5 separate regions of the Homo sapiens genome follow, and regions 2, 3, 4 and 5 are each linked to region 1. Evidence: promoter capture Hi-C in 16 types of primary human blood cells and fetal thymus (Javierre and others, 2016). All regions are on one chromosome and are shown on one strand. The core of a region is centred on a gene start or on the middle of the fragment in contact, and the rest is flanking DNA. Distances in the headings are between cores, read along the strand shown. Region 1 holds the start of DLX5 (distal-less homeobox 5). Region 2 overlaps DYNC1I1 (dynein cytoplasmic 1 intermediate chain 1). Region 3 has its middle 100 kb from the start of MIR591. Region 4 overlaps SLC25A13 (solute carrier family 25 member 13). Region 5 holds the start of SLC25A13 (solute carrier family 25 member 13).

Region 1 (2,806 bases), core at 221-2,720:
GGCTAAACTAATACTAGACACAACTAACACAGACGCTTTCTTCTTCGGTAGGAGGGAAAACGGAGGGGAGGCCAGATAACCCTAGATAGCCTGTGGAACTCCCAGATTGCCGGTCTTGGACCCCGTAAAGGAAGATGTAGGAAGGCCCCAAATCAGGATCTAGTCCGCGGAGTTGCCTATTTGAGGGGAGTAACAATGGGGATTGGGAGAGACTTTTATGCTGAATTTCTAAACTCCCAGCTGAATCACGACTAGAACAAGGATAGCACCTCCTGAAGAGCAAAGTTTAGATCTCGTGTATCAACTGAATGATTCTTGAATCCTTTCTTCCCTTGCATACGAGCTAAGTAGGATGTCTTTGCAGCAGGAAATAAAGGGGAGAGGGTACAGAAACCCGGGTCTGGGAAATGGAGAGACTGGGCCACATTCATGGAGCCAGGAGGGGGAAATCAATGAGCATCATCTGACTTTGCAAAGGCTTTGATCCTTGTCTCCTTCCCCACTTCCGAGACTTTCCCATTCTTTCCTGGAGGTATGGCAGGTTATACATGGATCCATTCACCTTTGCGGGAGTCTTTGGCCACTGAACATAGTTAAAGAGCCTTTATTCCAATGTCTTGAAAATAGATGAAAATATTAAACAGAAGTGGAGCTGTTTGGCTCTTTTTGCAAGCCAGCAACGAGGATTTGGGCTTCCTTAAGTTATATGTGTTTAAGACAGTAATTTTTAAAAGTCATTATAAGGACTTTGGGCTGCAGGAACTCTCCCTGCCATTCACCGGCTTAATGGACATTGTGCCTTCTTGGGCATTCCTGTCCAGCCCGCGTCCGGGAGATACTCATCTCCTGCAAAGGAAGTTGCCTCTTTCCCCAAAGAGCAAATTTTCAAAACATGTAAGTTACAACTTGCTTCCCAACACTCCACTAAAAAAAAAAAAAATGCTGTTTCCCTTCCTTCTTGCCTCCATCCTACATCCCCCCGCTCCCCACTCCCTGCACCTTGACTCCCTATTTCAGTATCAGTGTTTAATTCTACACTCGCCTTTGGTGCAGCCCACGGGGGCGGGGTAGTGGGAAGCAAGGAAAGATGGTCGCCCACCTCATTCCCAAAACATGTGCACTTTTGAGGCTTCTGATTGGAACACATTGTCCCCAGACATCACAGAGCCTTGTGCTGTGGCTTCTGCGATGTCTTTGGAATTTACTAAAAACAGATAGACTAAGACCCCTCCCCACTCCACAACAAGCAAAAACACACACAAGCGCGCGGGCGCGCACACACACAAACACACACACCCCCTCAGTACCCCCCACCCCCTTTTTAAGCAATGCTTTGTTGTGCTAAAACTAGTTGGACGAGTTAGGGTGTTACTGTTGCTCCCGAGGCCCTGGCCAATAGAACCAGATCCACCCCGCTGTGCGTAAGCGCGCAATTAAGGATTTAACCAAGGCTGTGCTGCGCCTCAGCCAGCAGTCAGCCGGCCGGAGACAGAGACTTCACGACTCCCAGTCTCCTCCTCGCCGCGGCCGCCGCCTCCTCCTTCTCTCCTCCTCCTCTTCCTCCTCCTCCCTCGCTCCCACAGCCATGTCTGCTTAGACCAGAGCAGCCCCACAGCCAACTAGGGCAGCTGCCGCCGCCACAACAGCAAGGACAGCCGCTGCCGCCGCCCGTGAGCGATGACAGGAGTGTTTGACAGAAGGGTCCCCAGCATCCGATCCGGCGACTTCCAAGCTCCGTTCCAGACGTCCGCAGCTATGCACCATCCGTCTCAGGAATCGCCAACTTTGCCCGAGTCTTCAGCTACCGATTCTGACTACTACAGCCCTACGGGGGGAGCCCCGCACGGCTACTGCTCTCCTACCTCGGCTTCCTATGGCAAAGCTCTCAACCCCTACCAGTATCAGTATCACGGCGTGAACGGCTCCGCCGGGAGCTACCCAGCCAAAGCTTATGCCGACTATAGCTACGCTAGCTCCTACCACCAGTACGGCGGCGCCTACAACCGCGTCCCAAGCGCCACCAACCAGCCAGGTACATGGACAGGGGGAAGGCTGGGCAGATACAGGGCGACTAGGACGCTGGGGGCGCGAGATGGGGTGGTAGATTGGGGGTCACAGCGGTTCACGGCAGTGGGGGCGCACGCGGCAGAAGGGAGTAGGACTCAGACCCTCCAACAAAGAGAGTTTCTCGGGCCAGCATTTTAGGGATTTTTAGTAGGAGAGCCCTGTGGAGGTTCGAACTAGCGTCTCTCCCCTCCGGCACCTTCCAAGGCCCTTCAGTCGCTGAATTCCCAGCTTGCCCGGCCAGGAAGCCGGCTAGGCTGGAAAGGGGATAGGGGTGGAGAGAAGAAAGAATCAAGCAGCTCCTGGCGTTTGCGTAACAAAGAGAAGGTTACTTGGGAATTTTGGTAAGCGTGCTGGGTTGGTGCGAGTGGGAATAGAAGGCTGCCTCAAAAACTCAGTCAGGATTAGTTTGAGAGCCGCCACAAGCTAGCACGGTGCGGGTGCCCTGAGCACGCTGGGTGGGGGTGGGGGGGTTAAGGAGTTGTAGCCAGCCAGAGAAGAGCGCGCCGAGAGTTTTGCGGTTTATCCAGGCATTTCCAAAAACAAAAAGCCATTTAAAGGTGGAGGAGGGTTGCTGAGGGGTCACGTTGTAGGATAGATTTTTTTTTCTGTCTCCATAGGCGCCCACAATTTGTCTTTCCGTCCTCCTTTTTCGTCCGCTTTGAAACTTACTTAGAGAGTTTAAGAGGGTTAGTGAGCTTGGGCGGTAAGAGAAAGGCATGAGGCTCGGCGGAGAGGTTTT
Region 2 (2,806 bases), core at 150-2,649, 990 kb after region 1:
CAATTAGGAAGATGTGAGAAAACATACCAAAAATGCTATATTTAAAATATTCATGTGCATGAGGTTATAAATATGACAAATATGTAGGAATTGTAGAATCCTAATATTATGTCACTAAGAATAAAAACGAGCTCAGTTATTAAAACATTTGGGCCTCTGGAGCACCAATAAATGTCAATGTGCTTAGCAAAATTTGGAATCATGAGCAAAGTGTGGCAGTGCGTGTTCCATGTAACAGGCACTCAAAAATTATGCCCAGTGAAACTGCTAAGAGCAGTTCCACACATGATCATTTAAATTTGTTCTAATGAACCCGAGGAACTGATCTTTGAAGTGGCCCCTGGTGAGACTCCACTTGCTCTTAACAGCATCCTGAAAGGATTTATAGGGTGCAAAATGAGGACCTTGTTTAATTTATGGAAGTGGATTTGCACCTTCTCTATGTTAGGTGAAAAATAGCAATCCCCTGCTTCTCCCCCATAGACCTATATGACCCATTTAGAATGACTACAAAGCCAATGCCTGCTACGTTACAATGTTACTAAGGTCTGTATTTTATATTTCAGATGGATGGACCAATGTAAAGCAAAATTCAGCTTGTTGTAAAAAGATTTGTGGTGTGTGCCATAGGGACCCTTCTTTTGAACCAAAGTGCATATTCTGATAGTGCTTAGAAAGTACAGTAGCCACAGAACAAGAATGTTCATCATGTAAAATGTTATTCACTTTATAGCAATGAAAAAAATCTGGAAATTATCAATGAATGTATTCTATAGCCTTCGTAGATAATCAAGGACCTAGGTAAAACCATGGGTTAAGTTAACTGAACCTATGCCATGTTGATTCTAATACGCATATAGATAAAGCTGTGACTCCAGGTCTGGCCTACTATACTCTCTATGCCTCTCATGCCACTTAAGACATTCTACTCATGTTCCAGATATTTGTGTATTTATCTTTCTCACCGTCATCAGTTATTTTGAAGAGAGAAACCAGGTTTACATGACGTCTGCAGGCCTTGCAGAACCTAACAATGCACTTTGCTCAAAGTAGGCATACAACAAATATATTTATGAATGAATAACTTTATCAAATATTTTTATGCTTTGATAAAGCTTTAATGTGTGGTTTTAGCCAGGGTTTATGAAGGAGGATCATTGGGAATGGACTGTGAGGCATATCTTCCTAAGTCATCTTTGAATCATGTGAGGGGACAAATACTGCTTGTTTCTACGTGCAGAACAGCAGGAACATAACAGCTTGTATAGTTTGAATGGAAAAAGTCACATAGCTGAGCCATGGATGCTTGTCATTTCTACAAATCACAAAAACACAGGGATATGAACTTGGAACAATTTGTGGTTCTTCATTAAATCTTAATAGCCTCGGATGAGTGCAAGAGATGAAAAAAAATCAATGGAATAAGAACTACTAAAGTAAAAGACAAATTAAGCACCAGTGTGAACATAGTGACCCTTTCAAAAGACATGAGGCCACCTGTTAAGTTTTGCATGCAATTTTACAATCTAGTCCAAACTATTGGATTCCACTTTATACTGACAACTCTTTTCCAGGGGCATTGTGAATCTCTCAGTTAAGGTAGAGTTCTTATCACCTGGGAACTGCATGGTGGTTTGTGTGACTCACTCTGTTCTGACCCATCTGACTGGGAGGAAAGCTTTTAAGGCACTTCTTTAGATTGGATGGATTACATTATATATCATTTCTTTATCCCCAATATATATTTTTAGCTCCTCACTTACTATGTCCTAGGTACTGTGCAGGAAATCAAAGATGAAATGGAAATAATGTAGTAAGAGAAAAATGGCAGATGAATGAATAAACTAAAATACGATTAATGCTATTATAGAAGCATAAGGAAAATATATGAAATTGTCAACTTGACAGCCTATAGTCCTATCCCACTTATTCTACTTTAATTTTCTCCATTGCACTTACCATCCTAAACTATATATTTATTTGCTTATTAGTATTTTACCCTCAACTAGAATATGAACTCTAGGTCTGTCTTGTTCTTTAATGTATCCTTTTGATGATGCCTGGCACATGGTAGGTTCTTAGTAAATATTCCTTGGAAGAGTGAATGAATAAGAGAATTGAAAATTCTATGGGACTTAAAGGTGGGAGTGGTTTTCTTTGCCCAAGAGTCAGAAAATGTTTCACATGGAATGATCTCTGTGCTGGCTCTTGAATGATGAGGAGGAATTAACCAGGCCAAAAAGGGAGAAATGCTAGAACTGGTAAAAGAAGTTGAGTATGCAAACTCATTGAGGCATGGAGGGATAAGAAATATTTGGGGATTGTTATCTCTGATGGGCACATGGCTAGACCCTGAAGGTATGCGGAGATGCTGGGAAGGTGCAAGTGGTCTGTTATGATAGGCTCAGAAGCTCGAGCTTTTTTCCCTCAAGGCAGTGTGAACCACCACAGTCTTATGAACAGCTAATGACCAGAGCAGATGCAGCTCTTTAAGATAATGAAGAGTTGAAGTCGTGCTTTCCATTTTTCCAGAGATGCTTTCTCATAATGCAAGGTGGTTAAAATCCAGAATGTGATAACAGACTTTCGGAAATGAAGAACATGTCATCAGTAAAGAAACAGAAAAATCACCTTCCATGACGACAAGCCGTGTAGACTGTACCTTCCTCACTGCCAACCACGAAGTTATTGACGTCTCCCGTTGGGAAAGCCATTCCGGTAACAGCGACAGGCTTGGACTTATTGTACACCAGCTCCATGCTCTCCTACCAAAACACGGTGTGGTTACATTTCCATCTGTCAACTC
Region 3 (2,806 bases), core at 134-2,633, 910 kb after region 1:
CTGTAAAATTCGCTCTGGGTTTCCCTTCTTTCTGGTGACAGCACAATCCGTTGTCGTCGTCAGTGGTGTGGCTGTTGTTGGTGCCGTGGGTCGTTTCCCTCTGTAGGGCTGAGGAACTGAAGCTGGTAACTCCCACATGCCTGCCTGCTTGCCTGCCTACGTGAGGGGGCCAGCCTCCTCTGCTCTGCCTGCCCCGAGTCTCCACTCTGCTCCTGGTCCACCACGTGATTCCTTGGGGGTTGGGAGAGAGGTCTGATTTTCATAGCAGCTTTTTTTTTTTTTCAAGGAGGGGAAAAATGTGAAGCTGACCACAAAGTGAACACACTGATTCTTGGGTTCCAGTCATGGCTGGGTTTCTTGAGGCTGGGTGGCATGCTGTCGCCAAGCTCCTGCTACACCTCGTAACCCACAACCATTTGCTGAGCTCCCTGGGGTTGCCTTAATCCCAGAAGCCAGGGTCGCACAGAGGAAAATAAGAATTCTGGCACAGAAAGGAGTCATTTAAGTGCTTATTGCATTTCAAGCTTTAGTTTCTACTTAGCTAAAATATTTACCATTGCTGGAAAACAATGTTTAAAATGTTGTGCTTATATGTTATTTAATGGCGTGGCCTATGTAAACCTCAGGATGCTTACATTTTGACAGTCTTCTGGAAATGTCTAACAGCACATAACCCAGCGAGTGGGGAATCAAAACGGGAACAAATGGCGCTTGAAACTGTTTGTAACCTCCTCCAACTAGGTATTCAGAATGCAAGTCATGCTGGAATGCTTCAGGTAGAGGGAGATCTCAAAAAAGAAATTTGATGAGTCCTGTCTTATGGCCCCATTTATCAACCTTCCAAATAAACTGTCCCTAAAAGTCATCATGTGCCTTTTACCGCAGAAGGCATACTTGTGGGGATGAATTTGTATCCTTGCCACTGAGCAAAATCCCATTTTCAAATCAGGGTAATCAAATGCTTTCAGGATGTGGATTTTTCCAAAGATTTTTAAGAGACACGTTCCCTGGTCAGAGCAGTGAAATGTTCTTTCCACAAATGGTACTGCCCACAAAGGAGTGTGTGCCTTTTGTTTTACCTTTGGGGAATAACCTTCACCAAAGAGTTCTGTTATGTTAGGAAGACCATGGGGAGTTCATTGCTTCATTTTAATGTCTGAGGCATCTAACAGCATTGTCACCTCTGCCTTTTTTTTTTTTTTTTTTTTTTTTTTTTTTTTTTTTTTTTTTTTTTGAGATGGAGTTTTGCTCTTGTTGCCCAGGCTGGAGTGCAGTGGTGCAATCTCGGCTCACTTCAACCTCCACTTCCCAGGTTCATGCGATTCTCCTGCCTCAGCCTCCCAAGTAGCTGGGATTACAAGCATATGCCACCACACTCGACTCATTATTTGTATTTTAAGTAGAGACAGAGTTTTTCCATGTTGGCCAGGCTGATCTCGAATTCCCGACCTCAGGTGATCCGCCTGGCTCACCCTCCCAAAGTGCTGGGATTACAGGTGTGAGCCACTGCGCCCGGCCACCTCCGTCTCTTAAAACAGTGGCAGTCTTCAGCTTGAAAGTCCAGATCGGGATCCATGATGGTTGGGATTGTGTCTCTGATTCTCTTAGTAGAGGCTCCTAGTTATTATTTTGAAGGATGGATGAATGGATGAATTTTTGAGAAACACTCTTGAAAAATGCATGTTACCCTGTTGCTGCCTGCCCTATTCCCCTCATCTCCCCATCATTGGCACCCATTTGCTTTTAAAATTCACTTTATCTTGAATCATGGAAGACAAATATATTCTGACATAAGTATTTAATTTCATGGTGCCTTGCATAATGGTCAGAGGCACATGAGTTTGTGAGGGTGGAAATAAACTATTCGTATTTTTTTCCCAAATGAGTGATCTCCATTATTGTCCTACTTTATAGGCCTTTTCTATTGCTGGAGTTAAAACCATAACTGAAAACAATCACAGTTTTATGTACTGATCACTTACTTTACAAGTCATAAATAAATATTTTATTAAAACAACTAAAGCTATTTAAAATTGACTTTAGTTGAGTCAGGCATTGTCACATAAACTATATGATAAATTTAAATTCCCTGGTCTTGGTTAAAAATAAAACTTTAAAAAAATCATCCTCTGAGATGAGTTTTACATTCTAACACGAGTTGAAATGTATTAGTACAATAGTTGTTCTTATCAATGAATGTATTACTTGTTTACAGCTCACCTCTCTTGTTTCTGAAGCTTTCCCTTCGAAGCTGCTGAAGACAACAGGAACTCTCTTTTAAAAGGGTTTGTTTTTAGCTAATGCATTAATTGACTCCAAAAAGAGTCCAAATGGAACACTCTGCTTTCATCTGCTAGGGTAACCTAATAAAATAATGTTGTTTGCTTTTAGATTCCCAGCCGTTAAGCGGGTTTTGCTCAAAGCAAAACCACAGTCCCGTCGAATAACTTTAGAAGGAAAATTAAGAAGACGCAGTAATTGTGCTTTTCTGAGCCTCACTTCTCCTGGGTCACAGACACACCCCCAGCACACTGGTCTGGCCACTAAGGCTCCAGTGCCTACCGCTGCTTTGGACAGGGCTTCGGCCCTTCAGAGGATGCTCCATTTTGCAGTGGAGCATTTCTTTAAGTGATTTTAAAGTGAACTCAAGATCCCAGAACAGACTAGTGCAAATGTGCTACAGTCTATTCTATAAGATGGGGAAAGGGAAATACAGCTTGATGAAAAGAACTGAAAACATTATTTGTTATCTTCTGTCATTCTCCTCCACCATCCCTAGCTACTTATCCCAGCTCTTGCCCTGGTC
Region 4 (2,806 bases), core at 142-2,641, 890 kb after region 1:
TTCAGTTACCCAGGTAGTGAGCATAGTACCCAATACTTAGTTTGAAAAAAAAATTTTTCTTTTTACGAAACTTCCCCTGTGCTTCAGATGAATCATTGACTCGTGTGTAGAAAGAGGATAATAATCATACCTACCTATTCATAGTATCGTTGTGTGGATTTACTAAAATAATGCATGTAAAGCATACAGGATAGAGTTGAGCACATAGTACACATGATGTGTTAGTTGTTATCAACTTTTCATTATTGAGTGTCAACTAAGGGATTCTTGCAGGAATACCTAGTTTCTTCCACATTATTCCAGTCCTGGGTAATTTCCAATGCTGTGTGGTCAACAACCTCTCCAGGCCAGGTCTTCTGCTTTGAACTTTAGAATAGCAAATTAAAAGGAGATGGCTTGAAAAATATTATTTTTATAAAACAATGCCCAGAGGAATTGAGTGTGCTAAAGACACCAGAAAAAAAGGATTCCTTAAAGTAACAGCAAATGATCAATTTTTTTAACCATTCTTTTATTCTTTCACCAAATGTATATTGAATGCTAACACTATTAGATGCTAGAGTACCAAAGATGTGTACAGTATCATTGCCTTAAAAATGATCTATGTTAAGGGGCAAGAGAAGAGAAACATATAATTCTAGTGCCAGCACTTTGGGAGTGCAGGAGTTCAAGACCAGCCTGGGCAACATAGTGAGACCTCATCTCTACACAAAAATATTTTTTTAATTAGCTAGACATGGTGTCATGCACCTGTAGTCCCAGCTACTTGGGAGGCTGAGGGGGGAAGAGCACTTGAGCCCAGGGGGTCAAGGCTGCAGTGAGCCATGATTGCACCACTGCACTCTAACCTAAGTGATAGAGCAAGACTCTGTTTCAAAAAAAAAAAAAAAGAAAAAGAAAAAAATGCAACAAATTGCAGGTGTAGGATAATTGAAAATAATCCAGACTAGACACATCAGAGGAAAACTGCTGAACACCAGAGCTAGAGAGAAGCTCTTTAGTGGCCAGAGAAAAAAAGTCAATTTGCCTTCAAAGGGGCAACAGTTGAACTGACGGCTAACCTAAAAATGGCAACAGTGGAAGCCAGAAGACAGTTGAATGGGGTGTCTTCAGTATGTGGAGGAAAAAAACTTTTCAACCTAGACTTGTATACCCTGTAAAAATTGCTTTTAAGAACAAGGGTAAAGATATTTTTTAGACTAGCAAAACTCAGAAAGTGTGTCACCAGTAGAACCTTAATGAAGGAAATTCTGGAAGGTGATCCCAGGTGGAGATGTGTCAGGAATGAATAGCAAAAAAAGTGGTAAATGTTTAGTCTTGTTAAAAGTAAAACTTCAGCCAAAGTAAGGGAGTTTAATTGTACAATGAATGATTCGTGAATCAGGCAGCCCCCAGAATCACAGCAGAGAGTGCTGAGGCGGGCAGATCACAAGGTCAAAAGGTCAGGACCATCCTGGCCAACATGTTGAAACCCCATCTCTACTAAAAATACAAAAATTTGCTGGGCATGGTGGCGCACGCCTGTAGTCCCAGCTACTTGGGAGGCTGAGACAGGAGAATTGCTTGAACCAGAGGTGGAGGTTGCAGTGAGCCAAGATTGCACCACTGCACTCCAGCACTGTCTCAAAAAATAATAATAATAAAGAAATAAAGAAAAGGTGGAACATGTTTTACAGATGAGCTTTGTGAAGGTGACATGACTAGCAGCTTCAGGACTAAAATTCCATGTGATAACATTCCTCTGTACCATGTCTAGGATTTTCAGTCCATCTCAGTGATGAGCATTGTTGATGGCAAAGCAGTGTACAATACTAGAACAATAGAGAACTAGCACTGACCCAAGCAGCATTTCCTACAAGAAACAGAGTTGTCAAGATGATTTTGTTAGAATTGCAATGAAATTAAGGAGAACCCATATCCCTAAAGTCCCTGGATTAAAGAAGCCAAGTAATAGTCATTCATATTTCATATTCAAATTGAAGTAATTTCCATGTTCACTGATATCAAGTCTTCAAATGTTGGCTGGCTTATTTGGTTTTAACACAAGTGACACAATCACATAATAGGTCTTGGCACCATTGCTATTTCTCAGCAAGACACTCAAACTCACCCTCCTCAAATCTCAGCCATGTAGGTGGGGTCTAACCATCCTTTGACTGGGCTGGAGAGGCACTGCCAAGCTGTGTATCTAAGGGTTAACTTGCTTGGGGGAAGCCAAGAGGAATGCTAAGGGATCAAGTCATGACATGCTGCCCATTGTTTGTAGCTCTGGGATCAAAATATATAATTATACATGCCAAATAAATTCTAAACCTGTAAGGTAGGAAAAGAGGGCTGGGTGGCTCTGACGACAGGTGCCAGAAGCATTGAATAACCTTCTCAGACAAGGTGCACCACTGTTGTCTTGAATGCTGCAGGGTCCCCAGTCTGGCATTTTCCCCGTGCTAGACAATGTGCATTCACTGCTGGAGTCTCTGTTAAGCCTCCGTCTCCCAGACCTGCTGGCTCCTGGTGCCCGGCCCGACACAGAGGTGCCTTTGTGAGTGTAATTACCTTTCCCTGTATTAGAAATAGTCTGTTTAGAGCTGTGTTTGCAGGTACAGCTAGAATAAGCAGGAATTAGCATGCAAAAAGACCTGCCCTGGCCCTGACTTCTTTATCAGCACCATCCTTCAGGACTGGTTTTTTCCCCACTTTGGATTGATTGGGCAGGTGATTTACCATCCAAGATGAAGAGTTTTAAAAGAAGAAAAAGAGACATCGGAAATTGCTGTGCATGTGCAACAGCATGCGTGCGAGAGAAAGA
Region 5 (2,806 bases), core at 216-2,715, 700 kb after region 1:
GCTGGGCCAGACTCCTTCCACTAGTCGTGCCACTGCCCCAATCCCATAGCTCAAGATCAAGTTACCTTTTGATATGGTTTGACCGTGTCACTACCCAAATCTCATCTTAAATTGTAGTTCCCATAATCCCCACATGTCATGGGAAGGACCCGGTGAGAGACAACGGAATCATGGGGGCGGTTACTCCCATGCTGTTCTTGTGATAGTGAGTTCTTATGAGATCTGATGGTTTTACAAGGGGCTTTCCCCCCTTTGCTTGGCACTCATTCTCTCTCCTGCAACCCTGTAAAGAGGTGCCTTCCACCACAACTGTAAGTTTCCTGAGGTCTCCCAAACCATGCGAAACTGAGTCAATTAAATCTTTTGGTTTATAAATTACCCAGTCTCAGGTATTTCTTCATAGTGGCATGAGAATTCTCAGTATTCTTATTGAGCCCTGGGAACAGTCTGCTGCCTTAACAGGTTATACTGAAGTAAACATTTATGTGTCTCTTTCCCAATAGCCCTGAAGCTGTTTAACGGTTGGAACCAGTTCTTAAGTCATTTCGGGGTTTCCAGCACCAAGCACAGTGCCTAGCACATAGTAGGAAGGCACTCAATCAACGTTAATGAATTAAACTGATTAGTAATAAGTGCTTTTTGCTGCCATATTACATCCACAACCTACAATACATTAAAAGTCCTTTTCCCTGATCACCACTGTCTTATAAATTTTGATTACAAGGACAGAAGAATGAAATCCTGATGAAGAGGAGTAAGGCCTGGAGGTCATATAAGCAAATTTTCATTAAAATGCTTGTTTATTTATTTTAGTAGGGCCTATTTGGGGGAAGTCTTTTGACCCGGGCCTTTTGACTTCTACCGTTTTAACAGGTAGGGCTGAAATGGAGTAGTTTCATGAATATACGTTCTGCACTACATTCACTTGTTGGGTTCTTAAGAGTTCACCGATTTTGATCTAAAAGTAGGCGTGCCAGCAATATTTGCAATCTCGCCTTCTAAGTCAATGCTTTTGGATCAAAGTCTTTTTGGATCCAGTGTAAAGTGGAGCTCCTTCAAAGGGAACGCACAGGGGAAAAAATATCCAGCAAAGTATGTGTCCTAGTGGAGTTCTCAACTTCCCCAGGCCGTGCACCATCTGTCGTTACTTGCCCCTCCCATCGGTCCGAGGGCCCAGTAGCCCCTGGTATCAGCAGAAGCCAGCAGCTTCCCTGGTGGGGCCACCTGCCCTCAGGTGACGGGCTTGCACACGGCCAAGTTACCTCTGCCCACGCCGCAGAGGCCGCCGCTGCTGGACAGCGCAGCGGGGTCACGTGTCCCTGTCCAGCCACTGCCCCAGGATCTGAGCCCTCCCCGGCTGCAGGGCAGAGGCCGCTGGATCACGCGCACCCCGGCGGCCAAGGCTGGGCCCAGCCAATGGGCGGGCAGCATCCACATGACCCGCGCCGGCGGGAGGGCGTGGGGAGGCAGGCCAGGAACGCACGCTGCCTGGCCGTATCGCCGCCCCCACCGCCGCCGCCGCCGGGACTAGAAGTGAGCCGCCCGGGTCCCAAACGCCAGCCAGCCAGTCAGTGGGTCCCGCAGTCGCCCGCAACCGGGGCGAATCATGGCGGCCGCCAAGGTAACCGCGGGCCCGAGGCCGGGGGGAGCGCGCCTGCCGGATCAGCCTGGGGGTGCGAGAGGCTCGGGCGCTCACGTGTCTGGGTTGGTGCCACAGGCGGAGCAAAATGGGGTGCCGGGCAGCCGTTCCACCTTGCGGCTGCTGGAGGGAGGGGGCCACTCCTCCCGGGCAGCACAGGCGGTCGGTGCAGAGACCGAGGCCCGACCTCGCAGCGGAAACTTTGTGGGCCGGACACTCCCACTTGGCCGGGGAGGGAAGTTGGTGCCTGACGGGGCTGAGCCAGGGCCGACGAGGAGGAGCGGGCGCGACTGGGGCCTGGTGCACCCTGGGCCGGCAAGCGCTGGGGGTCCTCTCTACCTTCCCAGCGCGCTCCTGCTCCTGACCCCGCTGGTTGTTGACTCCGGCTTCTTCCAGGGGCCAGAGCCCGGGCTGAAGCCTGATCCTATTACGTTTCAAGGGCTCCGCCCTCCCGCGGGTGGGGAAGTTACTTTGACTTCCGTTTTGGAAACTGCCTAGGAGACTTGGTCTGCGCCTTTGTGAATAAAAAGTCCAGGGACTCTCCCCCTCCCCGCTTTCCCATCATTCCCATCTTCCCCCTCCCTCTCTCCATCTGACAACACTTAGATACCCGCCTCGGAGCATTTGAGAGGCTTCTTTTTGGGAACGATGAAACAGATTGTCCTGGGAGCCTGTCACTCCTGTGAAGTTGTACTTGAAAGGGGTTCTGTGTAATGTGAATCATTCACTAACCCAGAGGAAAGGCAACTCCAACACTTGACCTTTCCTCTTTCACCATTTCTTGAAACCTGGACACCATTTCAGTCTCTTTGGACTGCATTTCAACTTCTCTGGCAGAATACCATATTTAGTCCCAATCACTTGAATCATTTGGAATTTATTGCTTTTAATTTAAGTTCACGAAGGCAGCCCTCTAATCAAGCCTATACAACTTCTTAGCTCATTTTAAGTGCAGTGAACTTAAATATACCTAACATTTCAAACATTTGTCCTTAATCAAAACTCTGTGATAACCCTCAAGAGGAAAACATGGCCAACACATCATATTCCTATTTATTCAAGCAAACTAATCACATTTGCAATGGAAATTGTAAGCAGACAAATATATTTAAATGCTGTTCTATGACTTAAGTCTCTCCAGGCTCCCCAAATCCGTAGGCTTCTTCA

Evidence for each region. Contacts are between HindIII fragments. The CHiCAGO score rates a contact against its expected background, and 5 or more counts as called.
Region 2: a contact is called between a fragment that was not itself captured here and the fragment with the promoter of DLX5 in region 1, in 1 of 17 cell types (endothelial precursors). The highest score is 5.3, in endothelial precursors.
Region 3: a contact is called between a fragment that was not itself captured here and the fragment with the promoter of DLX5 in region 1, in 1 of 17 cell types (M2 macrophages). The highest score is 5.6, in M2 macrophages.
Region 4: a fragment that was not itself captured here is called in contact with the fragment with the promoter of DLX5 in region 1 in 1 of 17 cell types (total CD4 T cells); the score reaches 5.2 in total CD4 T cells.
Region 5: a contact is called between the fragment with the promoter of SLC25A13 here and the fragment with the promoter of DLX5 in region 1, in 1 of 17 cell types (M0 macrophages). The highest score is 5.7, in M0 macrophages.

The regions. Positions count from the first base shown.
Region 1 is chr7:97,023,495-97,026,300 of GRCh38, reverse strand. DLX5 (distal-less homeobox 5) reads left to right here and starts at 1,470. Exons shown (of 3, transcript NM_005221.6): 1 at 1,470-2,032. The coding sequence starts at 1,678. RefSeq lists enhancers at 1-321, 1,248-1,964. The HindIII fragment of the contact is 4,218 bases long and covers 1-1,950 here.
Region 2 is chr7:96,035,578-96,038,383 of GRCh38, reverse strand. DYNC1I1 (dynein cytoplasmic 1 intermediate chain 1) reads right to left here. Exons shown (of 17, transcript NM_001135556.2): 13 at 2,632-2,765. Among named protein-coding and RNA genes, the nearest start is that of MIR591, 180 kb to the left of the region's middle. The HindIII fragment of the contact is 563 bases long and covers 1,118-1,680 here.
Region 3 is chr7:96,116,105-96,118,910 of GRCh38, reverse strand. No RefSeq gene overlaps it. Among named protein-coding and RNA genes, the nearest start is that of MIR591, 100 kb to the left of the region's middle. The HindIII fragment of the contact is 1,713 bases long and covers 527-2,239 here.
Region 4 is chr7:96,136,483-96,139,288 of GRCh38, reverse strand. All of the region lies in intron 14 of SLC25A13 (solute carrier family 25 member 13), which reads left to right. Among named protein-coding and RNA genes, the nearest start is that of MIR591, 82 kb to the left of the region's middle. RefSeq lists an enhancer at 2,128-2,721. The HindIII fragment of the contact is 3,047 bases long and covers 1-2,806 here.
Region 5 is chr7:96,320,757-96,323,562 of GRCh38, reverse strand. It overlaps SLC25A13 (solute carrier family 25 member 13), which reads left to right and starts at 1,465. Exons shown (of 18, transcript NM_014251.3): 1 at 1,465-1,621. The coding sequence starts at 1,607. RefSeq lists a silencer at 1,330-1,669. The HindIII fragment of the contact is 9,010 bases long and covers 1-2,806 here.